2 separate regions of the Homo sapiens genome follow, and region 2 is linked to region 1. The links are contacts of gene promoters, found by promoter capture Hi-C in blood cells and fetal thymus (Javierre and others, 2016). All regions are on one chromosome and are shown on one strand. Each heading gives the region's core, a stretch centred on a gene start or on the middle of the fragment in contact. The rest is flanking DNA. Distances are from core to core; before and after follow the strand shown.

Region 1 (6,150 bases), core at 2,205-4,704:
AAACTCATCTGTGTCCTCATCACTGGGCAGCTACCACCACTGCTTGTGCCCCCAACCCCAGCATGGTGGCTTGCCCAGGCCACTCAGAATGTCATGGCTGCCACAGGGAGCTGCCAAAGAGGAAGGCCCCCAGGGAAGAGTCAGAGACTTCTGAGGAAAAATCCCCTAACAAGTGGGGCCCTGTTTCCAAGCAGAAGAAGCAGCTCCTGGTTGACATTCTCACCACAATAATCAGGTACCAGCTCACACCCTGGGCCCTCATTGCCACCTTCGCATCCCTCCAGCTCATTCAGCCAGAGCCCCTTACATTCCAGCACTCTTCCTTTCTTGAGAAATAGAACTTGGTGGGGCATGGAGGTTCTTGCCTGTAATTCCAACACTTTGGGAGGCAGCAGTGGGCGGGTGGCTTGAGCCCAGGAGTTTGAGACCAGCGTGGGCAACATAGCAAGACCCCATCTCTACAAAAAATACAAAAATTAGCTGGACATGGTGGTGCATGCCTGCAGTCCCAGTTACTTTGGAGGCTGAGGTGCGAGGATTGCTTGAGACCATTAATTAGCTTAATTAACTGAGAGGTTGAGGCTGCTGTGAGCCATGATCACACCACTGTACTCCAGCCTGGGAGACAGAGCTTTTTTTCAAAAAAAGAAAAGAAAAGAGAAAGAAAGAAAGAGACAAAGACAGAAAGAGAGAAAGAAAGAAAGAGAGAGAAAGAAAGAAAGAAAGAAAGAAAAAAGAGGAGAGAAAGAGAGAGAAAGAAAGAGAGAAATAGAGAGAGAGAGAAAAGAAAAAAAGAAACAGAACTTCTTTGCAAGATCCCACCACGGTCCCCCCCCCCGGCCCCCCCACCCCAGGACAGTGGGGCTCTGATGGAGCTGGCTGGAGGGATTCTCAGGTCTGGATCCTGAGTTCTGCCCCATTCCAGGGCTGGCAGATGAGTCTGGAGCCAGTCCACTATCTCCCCAGGGTTCCTGCCCATCATGTGTGTGAATCTGACCTGCCCTGCCTCCAGCATACCATGTTCGCTTCTAAAAATCCATGAGGCTCAAAGATGTCTTCCTTGAAAGAAGGGACAGGAGGAACAACTGACCAAGGGCTCCCCTCTCCCCACCTAGCAGCCCCTTTCCCACCTAGAACCTAGCTCTGAAGCCAGGGCTCCCCAGGGGCTTCAGGGCCCCTCAGCAAGGGCCTTCTCCTTCTCCCTGCCACCTAGGGGCCTGCTGGAAGACAAGAACTTCCATGAGGCTGTGGACCAAAGCCTGGTGGAGCAGGTGCCGTACTTCCGCCAATTCTGGAATGAGCAGTCAACTAAGTTCATGGACCAGAAAAACAGCCTGTACTTAATGCCAATCCTGCCTGTACCCTCCAGCAGCTGGGAGGATGGGAAGGGCAAGCAGCCGAAGGAAGACAGACCAGAGCACTATCCAGGGTTGGGAAAGAAGGAAGAGGGGGAGGAGGAGAAGGGTGAAGAGGAAGAAGAAGAGTTGGAGGAGGAAGAGGAGGAAGAAGAGGAGACAGAAGAGGAGGAGTTGGGCAAGGAGGAGATAGAGGAGAAGGAGGAGGAGAGGGATGAGAAGGAAGAGAAAGTGAGCTGGGCGGGCATCGGGCCCACACCACAGCCTGAGTCCCAGGAGTCCATGCAATGGCAGTGGCAACAGCAGCTGAATGTCATGGTGAAGGAGGAGCAAGAACAGGACGAGAAGGAGGCCATCAGAAGGTGAGCAGCCAGGCCCCAGTGAGGACGGGAGGGAGGCGAAGTGCAGAAGGTTCCTAGGAGGCAGTGGGATGCCAAGGATGGCTGCTGCCTGTATGCACATCTCATCCTAATTCAGTGCTTAGTGAGGTCATGTTGGTAGCTTAAGGCCTCTGTGGGAGTATCCGCCCGGCACCAACACTGAACTTTATTCTTTTTTCTCTAAGAACTAGTTGTTGACATTTACCAACTTACCAGGAGAATTGTTATAGTCTGCAAAGTCTTGTAAATGGGCTTCTAGAGCCAGAAAAGGACCACCTGTCTTGCAGGTGGGACTTCCCGCCGGGGCTGCCCTACAGATGATTTATGTCATTGTAGGGATTCCCTAGGCCCCACCCAGTCCCTTCTGCGCCCTCTCATCACTTCCCTACCTTTCTCTAAACTTGGCCCTGAGATGCCTACTACATCGCCTGGGTTTGAATCCCACCCCTTAAACCAGCAGCATATTTGGCAACTTGGAATCTTTTAGCCACACTTGGAACGTCCGTAACATTGAAACAAGAATGCCCCATAGTGTAGTGGATGAGGGGAGTCGAATGGGAATCTCCGTAGAGCTCGCGGCACAATGTACCGCACGGACAGGCGAGCGAGGAGGCGCGCGGGCACTGCGGCCGCCCTCATGCTAGCCCCCGCCCCCTCGCAGGCTCCCGGCCTTCGCCAACCTGCAGGAGGCGCTGCTGGAGAACATGATCCAGAACATCCTGGTGGAGGCGAGCCGCGGGGAGGTGGTACTCACCTCGCGGCCACGCGTCATCGCCCTGCCGCCGTTCTGCGTGCCCAGGTAAGGGCGCCGGGACCAGCGGCCGCGCAGACCGCGCGAGAGGGGCCACGGGGGCAGCCAGGCTCTGCCCGAAGCCTCGCCCCCACGCCTACCTGGGACTTTTTGTCTTCCAGGAGTCTGACCCCGGACACGCTGCTGCCGACGCAGCAAGCAGAGGTACTCCACCCGGTGGTGCCACTTCCTACCGACCTTCCGTAAATGCCCGCGCCCAGCCTCTCCGACATGCCGCTAGGGGTCACGCCTGGCCCCCTCTCCACCGCCAGTAAAAGCATCTAGTCTTTTTTCTGTATCTACCTTGACTTTATTTCCCCGACGAGGGGGAACGCGCGCGCGAGCTCTGAGAGGGAAGGATGGCAGGGAGCAGCCCGGGCGGACTGCAGAGGCGCGGCGGGAACTTAGGGCCCGGGAGGATGCACCTCTCCGCCCACACTGCAGCTGGACTGAGACCTGGCCGCTAGCTGCCGGCCGCTGGACCGGGTCTGGCCAGTGGAGGGCGCTCCGGACGGGGCCTGGCTGGCCTTTGCCCCAGCGCACCTTGGTGCACAGTAACTGAGTGCCAGGCCTGGCCAGCGAAGCAGGTGTCCACTGGGCAGGGCGGCCACCCCTCACCTTTCCGCGCCGCGCCTGCTCGGAGGCTTAGCACCCCCAGGGCCAGCCCCTTAGCATTTGCCGAGCTCCGAGTGCCCAAGAGGCTGGGGAGGAAGAACTGAGGCACGCCGCGGAGGGCCAGGAACTAGGCTGGGGCGGGTCGAGGTCACCACTGGATTTCGGGCCACAGACCCTGCTAAGCGACTCCCACTGTGAATCAGTCCTCAGACGAGGATGGATACCCACCTCTCGGTTCCTCCTAACCCCCGCCCGGGAGCTTCTGTCCTCTGCTTCTCGGCTCCTCCCTCCCAGAGGCAGGTGGGTGGAAAAGTGACATCTGGTGTTGTTCCAGAGGCGCCCAGGGTCCCCAGCACCCTCCCCTCCGCCCCCGCCACCAAGGCCTCGGAGAAGCTCCGGTCTCAGAGCCCGGGCGGGGGAGGGGGGAGCGCTCCGCCTCCATGAGTCAATATTTGCCCCGAGCAAACGGGCGCCTGGACAGGTGTGAGTGTGTGTGTCTGGGGGCGGGGACTGAACAGGCAGTATAAGAGCACACGGAGCCCGGGCTCCGGGACAAGCTCCAAGGCGTGGGCTGGGGACGAAGCCAAGCTAGGCTGGGCCGGGCGGAGGGGCCAGGAAAGCCGGGCGGAGGGTGGCTGGGAAAGGAGGGGCGGGCCAGGTGCGCACCTGCGGTGGCCGCCGCGGCCGCCGACGTGTCAGCCGCAGATGCGTTCAGGTGAGGGCGGAGGCTAGCGGGGCGCTGTGCAGCACTGAGCTCGCGGAAGACCAGGACCAGGAGATCACCGAGGGCGACCGCCAGGCCCCGGGCCCTCCGCTCCCGCCCCGCGACGAGCCCCTCGCACAAACCGGACCTGAGCGTTTTGTTCGTTCGGCTCGCGTGAGGCAGGGGCGGCCTCTCAGCACCAGCCCGGGGGCCGGCCTGATCGCCACGCAGGCACCTGCCGCCGCCACCGCCACCGCCATCTCAACCGTACGGGTGGGAGAGGCTGTGCGCCGCTCCAGGGGAGATCCGGCTCCCATCCGGCCCCACCCGCCCTGCCTTGCCCTGCCCGCAGCTTCTGGGCTGCCAGGCTCCATTCTGCGTCGTAATACGGGCTGAGCCGGCTCCAGCGGGTGGCGAAGGGGGCCGTGGCCCAGAACAGAAACCCTTCTGGAGGTGGAAACCCGGATTCTAGTCCGCCTCTGTCCCCGCGACTTCTATGGCCTTGGGCAAGTCATTTCCCGGCCTCTTGGTTTTCCCATTTGCTCAGTGAACGGTTGGTCTGGCCTCCCGCAGGGGCTAGGCCCTCCCCAGCCTCCTGTCCCGGTTCCTGGGCTCCTGGTCATGCTGGGGAAGATGCAGGCCCTCACGGAGTTGGAGCCAAGGCTGAGGTGTGGAAAATCTGGGCGGGGGAAGCTGAGGGCCACCATGGAGCCTCAAATCCACTCCTCGGATCTCTGTGGTGCTGCTGACATCCTGAGATGTCACTCCCTGACACTCCCTTGGTCCCTCTTTCAGTCTAAAAACGTCTGAGACAGTCAGACTGACTGAAAAGGACAAGCCCCCAGGCACAGCGGTTCACCACCTTCCTCAAACCTCAGAATCCCACATCCTCGCTTCCATCAGCTGGGGTGGGGTAGGTAGGTGGCCCTCAGCTCAGGCAGAGGCAGCCCCGGGAGATGGGAACCAGGGTCAGAAGTCCCTCCAAACTGCATGTTCCTAGAGGTGCTGGATTGTCCCCTCCACCACCACCCGCTCTAGTGCCCCTATGTCACCCAACTACCCAGAGGCCCCAAAGGATCTGCTGAGCCCGAGTCCGTGGCACAGAGAGAGAAGGGGGAGGGGCGAGATGGCGTTGGACAGATCCCAGGCAGGTTTAGGGAGAGGGTGGACTACAGCAGGGCTCTTCGTGGAGCAGCCCCAGGGGCAGGGGAAGGTCCTTGGGTCCTGGGCTAGGGTGTGTGCAGCCCTCTCCTGGCCCCCCTGACCAGGCTCTGTCCTGGGCCAGCCCTTTACTCTGCCTGGCACTGAAAGATTTGCCTGTCAGGGGCCTGGCATGGTCCTGGTGCACCTTCCCTGTGTCTTTGAGGGCTTCCCCTTCCCTCCCCAACCATGTCAGGGGCCAGGATTCCACATCCTGGGTTTGCACAACAAAGAGATCTCTGCTTGGAATGACCCCCTCCCAAACACACACACACACACACACACACACACACACACAGCCTTGAGGGGAGGGTGGTGAGAAGGAGGCAGCCACCCAGTGGGCGGGGATCTTTCCTGGTGACTGAGAATTACTGCCCCTTCACCCCAGGGCCTAATTTCCCCAGTCCCCCACCCACTATCCATCCTAAGACTGCAGTTGCTGGCCATTACCAGGGATCTGGCCTCTCATCCAGGTCCCTCCTCCGCTGCTCCGCTGCCACAGGGCGGGGTCTCCCAGTGCCGGGCAGGCCTGCAGGTGCGGGGCTGCATGGGGAGGGGGGCACTCAGCAGCTGCTGTACGAGGCAGGCCCCCTCCCCCTCCTGCTCAAAGCTGGAGCCTGCTTCCTGTCGTCCCTGTCAGCACCCTGGGTGGGGGAGGGACCAGGTAGTGGGGGAAGTGGAAAAGGGATTGAGCGGTTGGAGTGCAGCAGCTGAGAAACAGCAGAAGAGAAATGGAGAAGGATGAGAAAGAGACCAAGAGCATAGGCTGAAGGAAAGAGGGGTGTGAGAACACAGGGGAGATCCCAGGGGCTGCAGAGGCTGCAGACCCTAGACTGTGAGAGCGAGACCAGAGGCAGAGATGACCAGAGAGAAACCAGGGAAGAGGAACAGAGAGAGACACATGGAGACAATTCAAGATAACAAGAGATGTACGCTGAGAGAGATTGGGGATGTGGATTCATGGGGCTAGGGCTCAGGGGACCAGAGGCGGGAGGCATCGTGTGTATGGAGAAAGGGGGAAGCTGCAAAACAGCCCCATCCCACCCCAAACTAGGGTGGGAATTAGCCCCAGCAAAGGATAAAGAGGTGATTTCTAGGTGGCAGACA
Region 2 (6,150 bases), core at 925-3,424, 120 kb before region 1:
GGAACAAGTAAGGCAGAGGAGCTAGAACCTTTAGGACTGCCTCTCAGCCCTTTTTATCCTTTAGCTGTTGGGGGCTGGGTATCACCCAAATCAGTGGACACCTAGTCTGTAGGCAGGGCTGGCCACAAGGCCAAGTTAAAAATTACTCCTGTGCCCTGCCTTTGGGCAGAGAAGAGCATAGCCTGGGTTCTCTCACCGGCAGGGATCAGTAAATTCTAGCCATACAGGACCCAGACACTCTTTGTCCAGCTCTGTTTTCCCAGTGTCTCCTGGGGAGTGATTCAGGGCCAAGGTGACAGTGGGTTTGGAGCCCAGATGAAAGGATCGCAGGGACCACAAGACAAGATCCCTTGTGTGGTGGCCGGCTGGAAAGAGGAGGGAGTGAGTGTGTGTGGAGGTCAGTGACGCAATTGCCCTGGCTCGCAGGGGTGGAGGAGGAGAAGGCTCGTGGTGTGTCTCCTTATAAAGAGGCCCTTACCACATGAAGCAGGGGTGAAGGTGATCCCAGTGTGAGTCACCCAAGAAGGGACGCTGTGTGCCCAGAGCCCAGAAGAGAGGACTTGTGGATTTCCCACTCTTTCCTTCTATGATTTTATGCGTAATATGGGTTGCTTTAGTCACTCAAGCTGCGTTGCTTCTCTTTCTGTCCTCTAATCCATTCCTCCCCCTTACTCTGCACTATCTATGATGTGTATGGGTTTTTAAGTCTATCAGTTCTTGATCTCTCTAGGTTTTTTTTTTTTTAATTTCCAAAGTTTGGAATCTATTGATTCCAAGAAACCCAAACCATCTTAATTGTGTTTGCCTTTGAGAAGATGGTCAAGTGGCTCTTTGCCAAGCATGGTTGTTCTTAGATTGTGTTTGCTTTCCTCCTTATCTTCAACCAAGGCAGATAGCACATCCTGGACTGGAATCTGAAGGGGGCCCCTCAGTTGAAGGCAGCTCAAGTCTGGCCTTTATTGAGGTCTGGGACTGCAGAGAGCTCTGGGGAGTGGCCCTGTAATCAGCCAGCCACCAACCCCACACTGCCTTGTAATAAAGCAGCACTATATTTGTTCTGTTTATAGTCTTCTCTGTAATAATGTCACAGCCCTCACTTCTCTCTCTCTTTGGGGAGATTTTCTGGGTAATAGAAAATTTTAAAATGTTAAAGAGTGTTGTAGACTCCGAAAATGTTTTTATCTAGGATGTGTCTTAAGTTGGGAAGATGCCCAGGAAATGCAGGCAGCTGGTAGCCTTAAGAAGGAGTGTGCTGTGGTGAGTGTGTTGTATGTGTGTGCACTGTGGCTGTGAGGACCATGTGTGAGGAGGGGCGGTGTGGGAGAAGGTGTGGGTGTGTGTCATGTGGTTGGAGTAGGTGTGGGGTGCACTCCTCTCGTGGTGGTGGTGGTGAGTAGAGAGTGTGGTTGGAGTGGGTGTATGAGAGGTGTGCAGAAGGGGCCAGTGCAGTAATGGAAAACCCTGTTTGGGCAAATTTCAAAACGGTCAGATATGCTGGATGGTGAGAACTCAAATTTAGCTCCAGAATGGAACCTTTTAAAGCTTACATTCCACTCATTCTTTCAACTGATGCCCGCTTTCCTCTGCTTCCCAGCCTTTTCAGGCCTAGGCTCCACAGTTTTGCTGATATCAATTCTTTATTCCTCTTCCCTACTCCTCCCAGTTCCTCACCTCTTTCTTTGTTAACCAGGAAGAAGTCAGAGACGGACTGTTGTAGAGGGAGTGAACAGTAAGCCATGCTGATCTAGGTTGATGACAGCTGGCCTGATGTCCCAGGCTGAAGTCTTTGAGGTTTACCCAGGGTGGCGAATGCTGGGGGCTGCCATTGCTAGGGTTATTGCTAACAATTTCGATTCCTCCTATTTCCTTCTCCCTCTCTCTACCTCTGCCCCCACCGCCAGGATTCTATAAATACTTTATTATATGGCACTAATAAAACTTCAAGTATTTCTTTTTATTAGAGCTACATAATATGGTAATTGTGTGACAGAACACAGCGCCTGAGAGTAGCCCCCACCCTCTTCCTAGGTGTGGCCTCTCACCACCTCAGCTTGGGCTAGGCCTACAGGCCTCTCTGTTCCTCTTGAGTGTGGGTAAAGGGGGTCGGATCAGCTTTTCAGGCAGAGCTAAGGGGTGAAGGCCTTTGAGTAGGATCAGGCTAGAGGAGTAAAGACGCACTTTTCTAGTTTTAAATGTAGTCTGTCTTGGTGGATGAGTACAGCAGGAATCTTATTAGCATTAATTCCAGCCACTGCATGGGGTTACTTAACCTGCCTTTCCTTTTAATAGTTCTGTCATGTGACATAGAAGTAGATTTTGAACTTAGACCCAGGGCTAGGCGTACATGGGTTTCTTTGGTTAACTTTGATTCACAGTACTTTTTGTTTTGTTGTTTTTGTTTGTTTTTAATAATGATCATCATTCTTTCTGATGTTTCCTGGGTTGAGGATCTGTAGGTGGAAAAAGATTCTGACTCCTTCTGTCTCTCACTGCATCAGTCGTAGAATAGCTTTCCGCTTAAGTCTCAGTCATTGTTTTCTGTGTCCACTAGTCTCATGGGAGGGTATGGGGCTGGAAACTCCAGTCTATAGAACTTTACTTACTGTTAATGTGTGATCTACAAAATATGTCTTTGTTGCCTAATTGAGCCTTGTAATTTGATTCTGGTTTTTGTCCTATGTGATCTGACTGTCAACCTTTCCTACCCCTCTACTGTAGCTATTGAACTAGGTCAGTGTATCCCTACCAGTGTTTTTCTGAATTGAGTATGATTTAGCCTCTACATCCTAACTTCTCCAAAGCTTGAGAATTGGGGATTCCTGCCTGGGTAGCTACTAACAGAGCCCCCCAGTGCCAGGGACGTAGGACACAATGTTTAGTTCTTTCTTAACTGCCTGTGTGCCCAGTGTTTGCATAGGGGCCAAGCTCCAAACTGGCCTCCGCTATCCACTCTTTACTCCCCATGGGGATGTATGGGCATATGCGCTTTCTACTTTTTGGGCCTAGCCAAGGTTAATATTAGACCTTCTAGCTGGGCTGCTGTTCCCGAAAGCCACAGGGTGTTGTTAATATTCATGTGACCGCAGAGGCTCATCAATATTCATGAGGTATCTGCAGTCTTCCTTCAGGCCCTTAGTTTGGAGAAAACAGGAATGATTAGAGTTTCTAGAACTTAAAACTAACCCTATTTCCTGGAGTCTATTGAGGAGGAGGCAAATCTTAAGAGTAAATGTCTGGGCCAGGAGAAAAAGCATTTTTCATGCCAATATCCTAAACTGGTCTGACAACTTAGTGGAGTTGTGCTGAATGGCTGTTATTAATGTTATCATCCTTATCCAGCATTTATTGAATACCACTGGGTTTAGGTTCTTGTACCAGTACTATGGGGGATAGGAAACTAACATATTTAAGTACTTACTGTGCCAAGGGTACAGAGATAACTAACATGATTCCTGCCCCCAAGAAGCATATGGCTCAGAAAATGAGATAGATAGGTGTACACACACTTATCTTACCAAAGTAAGAGTGCTGTAATAAAGACAAACATGAAGTGCTCAGTGAGGACAGATGAGGAAGTCATTCCCTGGTGGGGAAATTAGTGAAAGATCCCCAGGGAGCTCTTGAAAGGTGCGTGGATCTAAGGAAAGTAAAGTAAAATTTTTGTGACTTCTTGAATAACCCTCCACAAGGCTGTAAATACCCTCCTGGGCTCCCTACTTACCAGCCGTGGCTGCTGCTCCTGCTGTCAGATGGTTCCCCTGTGGTCTAGTCTCTTGTTGAATAGAACTTCTTGCTTATAAAGTGGTCTTCTACTCCTTAGGTGGGAGATATTGCCCCACCTTTTTTCTTGAAAGATTTAACTAGTAAGAGCTCCCAGTTGCGATATAGTTCTTGGTATATTTTGGGTATTTAAAAAGATGAATATAATTCCAGACTATAATTAAAAGAATAGCATGAAAACCCCAAGCCACCCTACTATTGTATTTAGCATTAGTTGAGCTCTTCAGGTTTTTAAACAATTTTCATTAATTTAATTTTTTTTTTTTTTAAGATAGGGTCTATTGCCCAGGCTGGAGTGTGGTGGTGCAATCAGGGCTCACTGCAGCCTCGACCTCCCAGGCTCAACTGATCCTTCCACCTCAACCTCTCAAGTAGCTAGGAGCATGTCCAGCTGATTTTTTGTATTTTTAGTAGAGATGGGGTTTCACCATGTTGCCCAGGCTGGTCTCAAACTCCTGGACTTAAGTGATCCACCTGCCTCAGCCTTCCGAAGTGCCAGGATTATAGGTATGAGCCACTGTGTCCAGCTGCTCTTGAGGTTTTGATGTCACGTGTGAAAGATGCACGGGGGCCTTAATGCCCATAGAAAAAATCAGAACAATAATAAAAGAGGTGGACATAGGATAAATAAGAAAAATCCAAGGACAATGGAATTATTTAATTCAGAGAGTAGATTGAATGGTAGTTCATTCTTTTAAATATGGAAAATTAACACATATAGGATAGTAAATAGCTTTCCTGCATTTTGCTCAAGATAGTACAAGAAGGGATAAACTTGAATTATAAGGATGTAGTTGAAGTAGAGAGAATTTTTACCTGACTAGATTATGTTACTAGGGAAGCTTTGGGAACTCCTTTCCTAGATTTCTTTTTTTTTTTTTTAGACAGAGTTTTGCTCTTGTTGCCCAGGCTGGAGTGCAATGGCGCATTCTTGGCTCACTGCAACCTCAGCCTCCCGGGTTCAAGTGATTCTGGTGCCTTAGCCTCCCACGTAGCTGGGATTATAGGCATGCACCGGCATGCACCACCATGCCTGGCTAATTTTGTATTTTTAGTAGACATGGGGTTTCACCATGTTGGTCAGGCTGGTCTTGAACTCCTGACCTCAAGTGATCCACCCACCTCAGCCTCCCAGAGTGCTGGGATTACAGGCATGAGCCACTGTACCTGAGCTGTTTCTTTAAGATTCTTTACATAATGATCAGTATAGTAGAGTCCTGCTTGGAACAATTAGAGGACGAGGTTAGGAGAGGACATGGCTAGCCCTAAGATTTGGTGGCTCTCTATTTCCCTAGATTTATTGGCTCATACTAGGGCCGATCAGAGACTTTTCTCTCTTCTACAAATGGCAGTATACTTGATGGAGCCCCACATATTTCCCAAGTTGACATTTGGGGGAAATACTTGCATATAATTTAAGCTAGCAATCCTAGGTATTGAATAAATATCGCCTCTTCTTCATTCTTTCTACAAAGACCTGTAAATCTTGAGGTCTGAGGAAGCTGACCTTGGACACTGGCATGCAGTTCCTAGAGTTAGGTCCAGGAATGGGGTTTAGGGAAAAAACATAGCCAGAAAGAATAATATTAACACTTTTTTATATACTCATTCATTGCCCCCTATTCTGATTCCTTCTTCTTATATTTCTTCATTTTGCCTTTTTCCAAAGCCTGTTTATATTTTTGTCTTGATCTTTGCTATTCACTTACATTTTCTTTAAGATGAATGAGAAATTGCTACACTACCTTATTGAGTCAGATAAATGATCCTAGAATGTAGCCTTTCTGAGAGTATGGACCTTGTGTGACTCACTCACCACTGTACCTCCAGTTTGTGGCTGGCATATAATAGGGGCTGTAGAAATTGTTAAATGAATGAAAAAGTATCTTTGTGAGATGAAGTGACTGCTCAGTGAACTTACTACATATTAGAATGTTTGCCCAGAGTGAAGACCATAGGAATGGTACAGCAGCATAATATATCTAAGTCATTGCTTTTTGGGTGATACTGCGTTCATTAGTGTTTGATGACAAACACTAGATCATGTCCTCTCGGTGCTAAATTCGAATTTCTGTGCCAAACCAAGAAAGCCAAAACAGTGTGATATAGTAATTTCAAAATATGTGGACTCTATTAAGTAGAGAAAGGGTTTGTTGAGTATTTGTCTTTCTCAAATCGGCCAGACTCTTGGAGAAGGAACGTCACAAAGAGCTGTAGGACTGGATATAAAAATCCTATGAGAATGTTCTGGCTAGTTAGGGTCCAAGGAAACAGGAGAAGATTGGAGCACTGGATTTCTCCAGTGTGCTCCACAGGAATACTCTCTTTAATAGAAATTATGGTTTCTCTTCTCTTAGATTAAATTCCTTT

The links. Contacts are between HindIII fragments. The CHiCAGO score rates a contact against its expected background, and 5 or more counts as called.
Region 2: a fragment that was not itself captured here is called in contact with the fragment with the promoter of CFAP65-AS1 in region 1 in 9 of 17 cell types (endothelial precursors, M1 macrophages, M2 macrophages and 6 more); the score reaches 9.6 in endothelial precursors.

The regions. Positions count from the first base shown.
Region 1 is chr2:218,999,519-219,005,668 of GRCh38, reverse strand. CFAP65-AS1 (CFAP65 antisense RNA 1) reads right to left here and starts at 3,454. Exons shown (of 3, transcript NR_046086.1): 1 at 3,369-3,454. CFAP65 (cilia and flagella associated protein 65) reads left to right here. Exons shown (of 35, transcript NM_194302.4): 32 at 107-235; 33 at 1,214-1,717; 34 at 2,397-2,534; 35 at 2,648-2,823. The coding sequence ends at 2,732. It overlaps MIR375 (microRNA 375), which reads left to right and starts at 3,961; the gene lies at 3,961-4,024. RefSeq lists enhancers at 3,388-3,682, 5,125-6,108. The HindIII fragment of the contact is 13,795 bases long and covers 1-6,150 here.
Region 2 is chr2:219,119,718-219,125,867 of GRCh38, reverse strand. All of the region lies in intron 5 of NHEJ1 (non-homologous end joining factor 1), which reads left to right. Among named protein-coding and RNA genes, the nearest start is that of NHEJ1, 38 kb to the left of the region's middle. The HindIII fragment of the contact is 1,259 bases long and covers 1,545-2,803 here.